Linked DNA regions of Homo sapiens: region 1 is linked to region 2. Evidence: promoter capture Hi-C in 16 types of primary human blood cells and fetal thymus (Javierre and others, 2016). All regions are on one chromosome and are shown on one strand. Each heading gives the region's core, a stretch centred on a gene start or on the middle of the fragment in contact. The rest is flanking DNA. Distances are from core to core; before and after follow the strand shown. Region 1 has its middle 61 kb from the start of OTOS. Region 2 holds the start of GPC1-AS1 (GPC1 antisense RNA 1).

The links. Contacts are between HindIII fragments. The CHiCAGO score rates a contact against its expected background, and 5 or more counts as called.
Region 1: a contact is called between a fragment that was not itself captured here and the fragment with the promoter of GPC1-AS1 in region 2, in 1 of 17 cell types (endothelial precursors). The highest score is 5.2, in endothelial precursors.

The regions. Positions count from the first base shown.
Region 1 is chr2:240,198,366-240,204,811 of GRCh38, forward strand. No RefSeq gene overlaps it. Among named protein-coding and RNA genes, the nearest start is that of OTOS, 61 kb to the left of the region's middle. RefSeq lists a silencer at 1-115 and an enhancer at 1,971-2,472. The HindIII fragment of the contact is 3,467 bases long and covers 1,831-5,297 here.
Region 2 is chr2:240,454,256-240,460,778 of GRCh38, forward strand. It overlaps GPC1-AS1 (GPC1 antisense RNA 1), which reads right to left and starts at 2,445. Exons shown (of 3, transcript NR_161169.1): 1 at 2,342-2,445. It overlaps GPC1 (glypican 1), which reads left to right. Exons shown (of 9, transcript NM_002081.3): 2 at 4,775-4,933. MIR149 (microRNA 149) reads left to right here and starts at 1,746; the gene lies at 1,746-1,834. RefSeq lists enhancers at 1,046-1,696, 3,649-4,300, 4,301-4,950, 4,951-5,601. The HindIII fragment of the contact is 6,703 bases long and covers 680-6,523 here.

The sequences.
Region 1 (6,446 bases), core at 2,314-4,813, 250 kb before region 2:
TGCCCATCACTATGCATCACTGCCCATGACCGTCCATCACTGCCCATCACCATCCATCACCATCCATCACCGCCCATCAACGTCCATCACTGTCCATCACAGTCCATCAACACCCATCACTACTCATCACTGCCCATCACTGTCCATCACTGCCCACCACTGTCCATCAACCCCCATCACTGCCCATCCCGTCCATCACTGTCCATCACCGTCCATCACCGCCCATCACTGCCCATCACCATCCATCACTGCCCACCACTGTCCATCACTGCCCATCACTGTCCATCACTGCCCATGACCGTCCATCACTGCCCATCACCGTCCATCACTGCCCACCACTGTCCATCACTGCCCATCACTGTCCATCACTGCCCACCACTGTCCATCACTGCCCATCACTGTCCATCACCCCCATCACCATCCATCACTGTCCATCACTTCCCACCACTGTCCATCACTTCCCACCACTGTCCATCACTGCCGTCACTGCCCATCACTGCTCATCATTGTCACTGAATTCCTTCCCCAGGGTATGCACCCGTTCCTGATCATAGCCTTTGGCCATCCAGGGAATGGGACCATGAGACATGACTGGCCCCGGAGAAGTCCCTGGTTACTTCTAAGTCAGCCAGACTGGAGCTAACATGAATGCAGTGGTTCTTAACATTTTGTGCTGCCTGGAGATGTTTTTGGTTGCCACACCTTGGAGGAGGGTGTTCTGGAATCTGGCAAGTAGAGGGCAGGGTGTGCAGGGCAGCCCCCACAACAAAGAATGGTCCAAGCCAGGACATTGCTGGTGCAGTCGGGGAAGCCCTGCTTCCCCCCTCCCCCACCGTCCTGCCTGGCCAATGCCCATCTTTTGCCCCTGCCATCACCCATTCATCACGGTCACAGGGCTCTGCAAACTGCTACAAACTCGTGGCATTTCCAGCGGCTTCCCATTCCTCACCCTAGGCTTTGAACTAACTGGGAAGGAGCTGTGGCTGGCACAGCAGGGCTGAGGCTATGGCTTGGATCTGAGGGCTTCCACCACACCCCCAAGCCTTGGCTGGAACCCCTGTGGGAGAGTTGGGTCACTTTGTTTCAAGGAACATTTGAATGCTTCAGGTTCCGGAACAAGGGAAGGGAGTGGATCCAGCCTGGCTGGCAGCTCTGAGAGCTGTGGCTACACGGGGCACCCAGGCCCACCCACCCTCTGCACCCCTCACATGAGGCATCCCCGGGCAGCCCCTCACCTGGCTCCAGGGGCCAGCTCGTGTGAACCAAGGCCCAGGCCTCCATGGCCTTCTGCCCGCCGTGGCCAGTCCTCATCTCCTGCAGGGTGATCGATGGCAGGAAATCCACTCCTCACCTTGCCCGGCTGCCTTCCCGCCCCCCAGCAGACCCGGGCAGGAGAACAAGAGCACCTCAGCAGCACACTTCGGGGTCCAGCAGTCCACTTCTCAGGGACCCCTGGGGCTTCCCAGGGATTTTCAGACACTGCCTTGACATGATGTCACTAAGGGGTCCTTACCTAACTGAGTAGGGACCCCACAAGGGGACAAGAATGTCTCCCCCAGAACAAAGACAGTCTTTTCCCCTGAAGAGAGGAGGTCTGGTCCCCACCTCCTTTTATTCTCAGGTCTACCTGTGACCACATAAGCCACACTAATAGAATTCAAGCAATGGCTTCAATCCAGGTCCAGTCATTTCCCAAGACCTTGCCTTCACTCCCATCATCATTCACCGTGTGCTACATTTAGTGGGGCACTTGCTGCTGGTTTTTAATAATGGAATATATAATTCACATTATATTGAGAAAGATTTCTTCATTTTCTACTTCTCACAAGAAGCTTTAACACCAAAAGTCGGCGTGATGGTTTTAAAAGTAGGCCCACAGATTATCTGAAATGCCCTCCTGAAGGGTGGAAGGTGGAATTGAGTTCTCTTCCCTTGAGCGTGGCTGTTCATGATGAGCTTCTAACAATAGCACAGAGCAGAAGCGATGGTGGAGGTGAAAACCCGACTGGCACAGCTTATGAAAACGCTGCAGCGTCTATCTCGGGCAAGCTCTCTCACTCTCTCTCCAGGCCAGCTTCCTGACCACAGATGCTGTGAGATAGCAAATGTCTATTGTGTAAAGCTGCTAAGTTTTGGGATGATTCGTTATGAGCACTGATAACTAACACAGCTGTCAAACATGCATTTTGTGCTTGCATCTGTTTAAAAATACCACTTGTTTTTCTTTATGCTGTTAGTGTCATGAACTATTTCTTCACAGTTCCCACACTAAAACCTCCATGTCGCTGGATAGGCGTTACTTCCTCAAGGCCTTGCTTCCAGCCCGTGCTCTCCACCCTGCTCATCGTCCGCCGGGTCAGTGCGGGGCTTCACCAGCTGCACTGTGGGAAGGGACAGGCCACCTCTGACCACCGGCCTGCCTGGGATGCACTCACATACCACGGGAGGAGCCCATTGCACGGCGACGCCCAGCTGCTCCGGATGCAGGGGAGGACAGGCCAGTGAGGGCTGAGGGTAGCGAGGCTTCTGCTGCAAACCAGCTGTGCCGACTCAATCCCTCCACCCCCCGGCTAATCCCAGCTGCAGCTTCTCCCAGCCTCTAGCCATTCCTGTCACTGGCTACATGGCGGTACTGACTTGAATTTTCAATATCAGATGTTGCCCCCATTTTTACTCCAAAAGCTAAAGGTTCAGCCACCTTGCGCCATCTTCCCCTTCCCACACCACACTTTGCCTTCCCACCAGACCCGCACTGAGTTAGACCACAGCTGGGTTAACTCTGCACTCAATGTTTGCATTACTCTTTGCAAATATTCCCCATGGCTGCTTTTCTGACACAGATCTTCTTCCATGGTTAATCACTGCCTTGCTCTGTCTGCTTAATTTCTATGTACCTGTCGTGAGTGCATAGACTCAGAGCTTTGGCTCTCTGCTTGTTGCTCCTGGAGCTGTCCATGCCCCTGTTCTAGAGCTGCTGCCCCAGGACCTCCCGTCCTCCCAGGAATTCCTTCTGCCTTTGTCTGGGGAGAACGGAGCCCTGGTCCTCCACAGCCCCTGGTCTCTTGGCTTATCCTCCTTGAGCCTCCTGAGAAAGGGGCAAAGGAGGCAAATTGCCTACTTTATCAATTGCATGTTCATGCCCCTTCTCCCTTCATTCCGCTGGATTTTTACCATTTTATCTGGTGGGCGTGAGGACGCCCATCAGACGCTAATGCATGCAGGCTTTTAAATTTGTAATTTTATATTAGTTTGAATGTACATTGGAAACCCCTTATTGTTTCCCTTTCAGCTTCTTTATGAGGTTTTTTTTTTTTTTACCTTACTGACTTAAAAAATGCAATCAACTTGGTGTTTTTTAAAAATACTTTCTGGCCTTGTTAGGCTAAGAAGGGACTTTCCCTCCTCAACATAATATTACACAGCAGTACTCCATGAGTTTTTTAAATGTATGACCCTTTTACCTATTTAAAAGTAGTTTTTGTGAGGCTGCAAAACATCTAGTTTGCTTCTTTGGCCGTGAAATATAGTCAACAAACACATGAGAATATTATCATCTCACTGAAGAATTAAAAATTCAAATGGAAATAGTGAGCAGGCATTTTCTGCTTCCCAGAGCGCCCTGTGTGACAGAGGTTGGCATCGCCTGATGACGGCTGGGCGAGGGGCTATGCCTGCCTGTGTGTCATGGATGGAAACACACAGGGCACCGCTGACAGGGAGAGGCATGAGGACGCCCATCGGACGCTAATTCATGCAGGCTTCTGGCCCAGCAGTGCCACTGTGAGAACTTATTCTCCAGAAGCACTCATACAAGAATACAAACATGCTCACTGCAGCATTATTTTTAAATCCTAAATAACTAGAACCAAAGTAGTGTCCATCAAAATGAAGTTGGTTAAGTAAACCAGTGCACATCCATTATTTATTACAGCCTTCACAATAAATGGAAAACTGTGGTGTGTGTGTGTGTGTGTGTGTGTGTGTGTGGAGTGAGAGAGAAAGGAAGTTGTATCTATATTGATCAACAGAGACTATTCTCCAAGATAATTTCTGTGCACCAATGCAAACAGTAAGTGACAGAATAGTGTAAGTCATATAATTCCATTCTCAAAAAAAAATGTAGAGTTTGCAAGGAAATACACCAAACTCCTCTCTGGAAGGTGAAATTTCAGTTGATTCTTTTTTCCATTTTTTCTTGCTCTTTCTGAATTTGTGACTTTCTAAAAGTTACAGTGAACAAAGATCATTTAAAACATAAAAACAATAAAGCAATTTTTCAAAGGAGCTATTAAATTGTAAACCAGAATAACAAGAGACCCATAGACACCAAATAAGAAGGTTTCCCCTGGCAGCTGGGAAAACGCCAGCTGGGACTGGCTCTGCGGGGGCCACACTCCCTCCACCTCACCCTTGCAGAGGGAGCTGGCTCTGGTCCCTCCATCTCTCGGGCTGCTGCTGTGGTTTTGGGCGTCTGAGAACAGAGGCTGGGGGTGAAGCCCCAGTATCCCCTTGGCATTCACTTCACACCTGCTCCACACTGGACAATGTCTGTCCACACCATTGGCCATGCCCTTTTCCCTCACTAGGGCCTCTGGGAGGAGCCCAGCTCCGGAGATGACCAAGACCTGAGCCTGGACTCTGGGAAGGGAAGGGTCACAGGATGGCACCATCCCCAGGGTGCAGTAAAGTTCCCAGGGTGCAGTGGGGGTGCAGGGTGGTCATTGGCCTGAGCTGGAATCTGGAAGGCTTCCTGGAGGAGGTGGCAGCTGAGACTTGGAGGAAGGGCAGGAGTGCGGGCAGGTGGAGAGGCAGGTGGTGTTGAGCAGAGACCATGCTGAGAACCGCCAGGTAAGCTGTCATATGTGAATATTCACTGAGCCCCCGCTCTGCACAGGGCTAGTGCAAAATGCTGGGCATTACAAGGGGCCAGGAAGAGACTCCCTCTGCCTGCACAGGACTCTGTGTTAACAAGAGAGAAGGGCTGGATGCCCAGCCCCTTGGGTGTCCCATGTGGTCTGCAGCATGTGGGGAATGTCCATCAGGGCACAAGAAGGCCTGAGGCACACAGCAGATGCGTGCGGGTGTTGGCATGGCCTCTGCGAAGGTGGTCAGCCATCCAGGACAGCTGTCGGTTTCTGCTTTGAGCCTGTGTGGACCAGAAGGAGAAAGGAAGTATTGGAGGGAAGGAGCGTAGAGGGGAGGGGAGAGCCAGAGAAATGTGTTGGGGAATCTCATTAATTCCAGCATGCCCTGCTGTTAATTACATAGAAATTAAATTGGCAATAATTCAAGCAGAAAGCTTTCATGTGACGTCACTCCACATTCCTCGCTGAAGCGCCGACTTGCTCTAATTAGCACAAGGATTCCCGGTCCTTTGTCATCTCTGGTACCCAGCTCCTTGCTTGGGCCTGGCCTGTGTCTCGACTTTCTTCCCCCAGGCTCACTCATCCATCAAAATGAAGTCAGTGACTTGCATCTTTAGAGTCCAAGCTTGGAAACCTCCGAACTTGGAGGAATGGAATCCAAGCTGGGGAGAAGGTGGGAAGTGAACCTACCTCTTGTTGGGGGCCGTGACTGAGAGGGCAGGGAAGCAGAGGGCTGAGGGACTCCTAGGAGCCGGAGCTGCTCTGCTCTGTGGACCCGCCTGGGTCCTGAGATCAGGGGCCACGTCACAGGCGACTTCCAGTGCAGCTGAAGTGTGTAGGTGCCACACCCTCCACATGGTGCCCAGCCAGGGCTTCTGGAATGGGAGGGGCCCTGAGCTCCGGTCAGCAGGGCCAGTGGTCACCCGGCCCGCCATTTTCCCAGCACAGCCAGCTCACGGGCCTGCTTCTGCCCCTTCCAGTGCCTTTCTTGGGGAGGAAATAGCAGGGGATTATCCAAAACCCCGACTCCCCCTGGTAATGCTGGTAATTCTCCTTCCCTCTCAGCATTTCCCTTTGATGCTCTAAAAGCTGAACCTCCAATTTTACCTGGTTGGCTCCTCTTCCAACTGCCTATGTAATGTGATTGTCCCTAATGGAACCAGCCTTGAATAATTGAACAGAGCTGGAACAGGGGCCGTGGAAGTTGTGACTGCCTTCACTCCTATATTTAGTGCAAAGGGGAAACCGAGTTCACGCGTGGTCAGGGCTCTGTCATGCCCGAAGCTCAGGACACTCTCGGACTCTGGTCTGGGGCCGGGTTGAATAGAGGCCCTGTGCTCTGTGCCTCTGGGCTTGGCCCCATCCTCACCCCATGCTCCCCTGAGCGTGTCCTGCTGTACTGGGCCTCAAGGGTCGGCTGTGTGATGGCAGGGTCCTGGCTCCATCTGTCCCGGCTCTGCCTCCTGAGTCCTCGGCACTTCTCAAGGGGTGCTCCCTCTCCCCCACCCTCAGGGCCAAGGCTGCCAGTCTCAGCTCCCAAATCCATCTGTTTCCCACCCCTTGTCACCACCCCCAACCCAA
Region 2 (6,523 bases), core at 1,195-3,694:
TTCTTAGAGGATGGGGCAAAAGTGAGGAAAAGATCCTCTGCAGCCTGGGCAGTGGGTGGTCCCCAGGAAACCCCCTGGGTCGTTTGTCCAGTGCACCCTCACCCCAGGAGGCTGCTGGACGTGCCGGAGGATGCCACAGCCACCGGAGCTGGTTGGGGTCCGAGAGCAGATGGGCCAGGGGCTGGGGCAGGCTTCGAGAAGAGGGTTCGGGCTTGGGGAAAGCCTTCGCAGCCATCGGCCAGCCAGGAAGGCCCCGTTGCCGGGTGCAGAGCTGAGTAGAGGGCAGGAGCGGGGAGGCCTAGGCTCTTCCCTTGCGTGTTGGGGGGCTGCGGTGCCTGGAGCTCTGCACACAGCCCTACTCCAGCACCGTGGGAGGCAATGCAGGCTGACTGTCCACGCCAAATTCCGGTACCTTAGGCATTCGAGTCTGTTGACACTGAGTGTCTAGGACGAGGCTGTAAAGGTGGATAAAGCCGGCTTTACAGTCTGCACCTCCTGTGTGAGCCGTGGAAGCTTCTGGAGGGATGGGCGTGGCGTGGCGCCATCATCTCTCTGCATTCTCCTTGGGAGGGCTCCAGAGCCACTGGTCACGGGCAGCTGCCAGGCTGGGTCTGGACAAATGAGGTCTGGGTCCATCATTGGGGATGGGGGCCACTGTCAGGATGGGAGTCTCGCCTAAAGCTTTGGGGTGAAGGTGCTGATGACCAAGAGGAAACTGCGGGGTGGGGACATGTCAGCAGGGGACGAGAATGCATGACCTAAAAGGTATCCAAAGTTAAGGCTGGTGGGGGCTTAGTGAGGAGCAGCAGAGTGGGGTGGTCCAGAACCGTCAGGATCGGGAGGGGGAAGATGGAACGAGACAGCAGCTGCCTACGAGCCAGGGAGCAAGAGCTCTGTGCTTTAACCTGAGGAGCAGGAGCCTGGGAACTGGAGACTCTGGGTTTGAGGTGGGGGATGAATCTGCCATTAAACAAATAATCCCCTTCCCCCCCAAAAAAATCCTCAGAGCACTGGGGAAGGGAAGTGTCCCAGTGACTGAGGGAGGGGAGCGCTGTGGAAGGATGGGTCGGCTACAGCAACTTCAGCCCAGGGATCAGGGAAGAGAGGGTCCAGTCCCTGGCCCAGCGGGGAGCAGGCCCGGTGACCTTGACCTGAGCAGCCCCAGGGCCAGAGGGAGGGGTGGGCCGGAAGGGCCCAGATGCCTCCCTGCACGGGGGGAAGGGGATGGGCTGCCGGGACTCACCCCCTAGGTTGGAAAATGCCTCCCTCTGGGTTGGAGGAGGAGAAAGGCCAGGAAGGAGAGGGAGAGGGACATGGGGAGGGTTCCCTCCTGGCCTGAGGCCTCTCTATCCCCAGGTGTTGAGCTGAGAGAAGTGGTGGGGAGGCCCCTGGGGGTGGGGAGGCCCCTGGGTGGGGAGATTTAAGATGACAGCTGGTCTTGGGCACATTGCTCTCCATTCAGAAAGGCCCCAGCCCCTGGCATTCTTCCAGGAGGGGGCTTGCTTTGCCGCCCTGCAGGGGGACTCTGCAGAGCCGGCCTCTGCCATCTCATGTCCAGGACCACAACCTGTGGCCCCGGCCTGCGCCGGGCCGGAGCTCCGCAGAAGGAAGCCAGCGGGAGGCCTCCTGCCTTTGACTGCCGTGCGTCCAGCCTGCAGCGGGCCTCAGGGGGCCGCCTCGATCCAGCCTGCCCGAGGCTCCCAGGCCTTCGCCCGCCTTGCGTCCAGCCTGCCGGGGGCTCCCAGGCCGGCGCCCGAGCTCTGGCTCCGTGTCTTCACTCCCGTGCTTGTCCGAGGAGGGAGGGAGGGACGGGGGCTGTGCTGGGGCAGCTGGAACAACGCAGGTCGCCGGGCCGGCTGGGCGAGTTGGCCGGGCGGGGCTGAGGGGTCGGCGGGGGAGGCTGAGGCGCGGGGGCCGGTGCGCGGCCGTGAGGGGGTGTGAGAGGTGGCTGACGGCGCCGAGGAGCCCCTCAGAACCTGCAGGTGGGGGGAGCTCCCATATCTTACGGGTGTTTCGGGCCTCACCTCTCCATGCCTCTCGTCAGCCTCTCCCGTCTGCGTGGTGGGGGCTGGGGAGTGGGTCCGCCGGGACCTCGCGAGGGAGGGGCACAGGAGGAGCCGGCGGGGGACGCCACCCACCCTCCTCCCTAGGAGTGCTTGAGCCCTAGTCCTGAGTCTTGGACCAGCTCACTCGGTTCCTGTGGCCCAGCCAGCCTGGCCTGGGTGCCCCGTCACAGCTGAGCCCATCTCAGCTGAGCCCAGGGTGTGTCACCGGGAAGCTCAGCTGGCACCTGCCACCCCCTCCCCCAGGCACGTTTCCCTCCCACTGCCCAGCCCATTACCATCATGTGTCCGGCTGACCTGTGCTCTCCTGGTCTGGGCAGCCTGGATGGGTGCACAGGGCCCCATCACAGCCCACACCCTCGGAGAGACGCCTCCTGAGTCTGCTCAGCCTGGCACAGGCCCCAGGAAAGGACCCGGAGGGGCGGTTCCTGCTCTAAATCCTGCCCCCACGGGGGTGGGACTGGGGCAGAATCCCATCAGTGAATAAAGGCTGCAGAGTGAAGGATGGTCCCTGGCGAGTGTACCTGTGTCCCAGTCTTCTTGCCTGAGGGCGCCTTCCCACCCATGTGAGGAGTGGGGAAGGAGCACCCCTTCTCTACTAGGCCCCAGGGCTCTCAGAGCCGGGCTCTGTCCTCACCCCAGCTGGCTCCCACAAGGCCCTCCTGGCCCCAGACTCTGTTGGACCCCCAACTCCCCCTCCAGCAGGCATCTGGAGGTAAGGAGGGGCGGGGGGCGCAGGTGCACTTGCCATTCCCGCTCTGTCTGCAGCATGGGCACATGTAAGTCCAGGCCCTGGGGAATCCCTGGACCTGCAGCCCCTGCGGAGGACTCCCTCCCCCTCTAGCTCAAGCCAGAGCCCCCTGCATCAGTACATTCCAGAACTCAGACAGGAAAAGAGGGCAAGGAGGGAGCGCTCCAGGATAAGAACCCCTACCTCGGCCCTCCCTCGCTCTCCCAGGCCCCTCTGACAACCTGTCTCCTTGCTGTCATGTCAGCAGGCACAGAGGCTACAGGGGCCAAGCGGCAGCCGCCCAAGCCCGGATTCGGGTTCTCTGTTCCCTTCTCTTGTCTCGGGCTCCTCCCTGAGTGTGTGTACTTAGAGGGTGCGGAAGATCAGCAAACTCAGTCTGACCCAGGCATTCAACCTCTGGGTAGTTACCTAGTCCTGGGTCCCCACCCCAGATGGCCTCTAGTGGGTAAGGGCTTCCTGGACCCCAGGCCTGAGGGGTGACTTCTCTTGCAGTAAGCGGGTAGGGCACTGCCTGCGCTGCTCCAGGCCCTGCCTGCAGTGGGGCTACAGATCCCTGCTCCCACCTCCAGGCAGGGCTGGAGCTGCTGCCAGCTCCCCCAGGACAGCCTCGAGCCAGGTGCCTCTGCCCGGGCTGACCCCGCCCTCGGTCCCGGTCCTGGCTCCCTCTCCTGCCTCTCCTCCCTGGCCTGGCCTTCACTTCCTGCTGACCCTCAGGAGGGCGTAAAAGAATGCAGGACCTGCTGCATTCCAGCCACCCTGGCCCAGGGTCCCAGAACAGGATGAGACAGGCCCCTGAGGCGGCAGTCCTGAGGAAAGTTGCTGGAATTCCTGCTGACAACGCCCCCCCTTGACCCCACCCCTCTGACCAAGCCAGGCTCCTGCTTCCACCTCTCCACTGTGCCTGACCTAGGCCAGCACCAGGAGGGCCTTAGAGGCGGGGGACGAGGCCCAGAAGGAACAGTGTGGCCCCGTCAGTGTGGAGTCCTGAGCTTAGGCAGCCGGAACCACTTGCCCCCTCACTGTATAGCTGGGACGAGACCTCATCCCTGTAAGCCCCGGTTTTCTGGTTAATAAAATGAGGATTGCGGCAGCCTTCATCACAGTGCGATGCACACCCTTTAAAAAATGCAGTTTTTCCTGATGCCACACACCCATTCCAGGTGGGCCCTGAGGTGTGCACAGCAGGGCTGAGAGCTGACTCAAAGCCTGTCCTGTCCCCACTCCCCACAAGGAGGTGAAGCTGTCTCTGATGGCAGTGCCGCTGTCACTGCCTCGGACGCTGGAGCAGAGTAGCTCATGGCAGGCTGCAGAGGAGGGGACTCCACAAGGACACCAGGAGGCACAGGGTGCACCCTGCAGGGCTTGGGGCATGGTCCAATGACCCTTTCATGGGGCCTGCCAGCTGCACCAGAGCACACCTGCCCCCATACCAGACTCGTGCCTGGGGTCCTGCAGGGCCACTGCCTCTGACCAGCCCACTGTTGGTGGGATCTGCCGTCCTTGCAGTGGGAGCTTGGTGCCCCCCAGGGCTGGTGTGGGAAGAGAGGGGGATTGGATTCCTTCCTCCTTCCCCATCCTCAGACATGGGCCCAGGCAAGGGGTGCCTTTCGGGCCTGGGAGCCTTCTCCACACTTGCACACAGGAACCTGAGGCCAGTTCTTTGCTTGCAGCTGCTGGGACAGCAGGCTGGGGGGCAGGACTTGCCCAAGGGGCCTCCTGCCCTGTAGAGGCAGCCGTGCTCTTGTGTCACGTGTGGGAAGCTACGGGACCGAAGCCAGGCCTTTTCCTCCCTCCACACCCCGACCACTTCTGCCTTCACCCAGGGCACCCCCCAGGCTGGCCCACCCCTGAGCTGTGCTCCACCCTGGGTCTGCCATCCTGCCCAGGAGAGCCTGAGGGTGCCCTCCTGGCTCCCAGTGCTGTCCCAGCCCCTCTCCCTCACACTGGCCTTTCCCCACAGGTGAGCACCTGCGGATCTGTCCCCAGGGCTACACCTGCTGCACCAGCGAGATGGAGGAGAACCTGGCCAACCGCAGCCATGCCGAGCTGGAGACCGCGCTCCGGGACAGCAGCCGCGTCCTGCAGGCCATGCTTGCCACCCAGCTGCGCAGCTTCGATGGTGAGTGCCTCCCACGGGCGCTCGGGGCCCGCAGGGTGCCGGTGCATCGGGGGAGGGGCACACTGGGCCTTGCCTGGTGTGTCAATGCCAAGGGTGGGGGATTGGCAGGAGGAGGTGGGGGAGTTAGTGCTTTGGGGCTAGGGCGCTGGGTTGAAGCCCCAGCTGGGATTTGGGGGCTGCCCTCAGGCAGGGATCTGCAGGGTTTGACACCCCCCTGGGAGTGTGCACAGCCCATTCCCAGTGCACATTTGGGGACAGAGGGCCTATCCCATCAGCCCCTCAGAGGCTCCTGTCACCAGCAGATTCTCCTGAGCACCTGCAGGGAGACAGGCCTTGGCCAAATCCTGCCTGCAGCTCGTCAAGTGCCCCAGGCCACTGCCCCTGGGGACCAGGTGGCCTGGAGCCAGGGAGCTCAGTGCAAGGGCTGAGACTGGGGCTGGGGACAGGGCTGCAGAGTGCAGGGCCTGCCTGGGGTGGCCGCCACTCAGCCCTTTATATCGGGGCAGGAGTCTGGGGGCCGCGGGGAGTGACCCCTGCAGGCCTTGAGGCCCCGCCAGCTGCTGCATTAGAGCCACGTACTCCTCGGCCCAGGCTGGGCCTCGCCTTGTGTCTGGGCAGAGAGTGGCAGCCACCCCCAGGGGGACAGTGTGGGGTCAGGAGGTCCTCCATGAAGTGACCTCTGATCAGAAACACGAGGACTTGGTGGAGGGAGGCGGCCCGGGCTGAGGTACTGCCCCTGTGTCCGGGCGGAGCCAGGGCGCCGGGACAGTGAGCCTGGGCAGACAGGAGGGAGGGAGCGCTGAGGCTGCAGGGCTCCATTGTGGCTGTGAGGGACGGCAGCTGCTGCTGGGGCCCTGGGGTTTGTCTCAGCGTTCCTGCTTCTCCGGCTCCTGGACACCTGCTGTGGCCTCCCAGGCTCCCGGGAGAGTCTGCCTGTCCCCAGGAGCCCCCAAGGCCATTTCCACAGGGCTGTGGGACCTCAGCTGTTGGCGTACACCTGGGTAGCAGTGGGTCAGAAGCTCCCTCTCTGTGACTTGGACATCGATGCTCAGAGCTCAGCCCTCCCCGCTGGTGTGGGGCCCGTGGGATGCGCGTGGCCCCTCTGGGACTCTCCTTCCTCCTGCCCAGCTGGACCCGGGGAGCGAGCCCCTGCACCCTGAGTCAGGAGCCTTCCTGAGCCACTTGGTTCTGTCCCATGTGTAGGGACCCGGCTCACCTCCTCCACTCTATCCTGGGCCTCAGTTTCTCCCCAGCGCCGCTGAGCCCTGGCTCCCGCCCCAGCGTGCCACCCAGCCCTGCCCCTTCCCCTCTCCTGCTAATACCCTTGCCCATCACACCATCCTCCTGGCCTGGGGACATCCTGCCCGCCTGCTTCCTCCTGGCTCTTAGGGGGTTGGTGTCGCTGCCCTGCTCTGGGGCCTGTCCCGTGTCAGTGCCCTGCCGCCGCCCTCCCTCTGCTGCCCTCTGGAAGCCTCCAGCCTTCCTGTTCAACTCTCCTATCTTTGACCTGAAAACACAGACACCCTTTGGGGACATTTGTATTAAAAATGACCCACTATGTGATGTGCCCAAGGCCCACCTGTGCCCCTA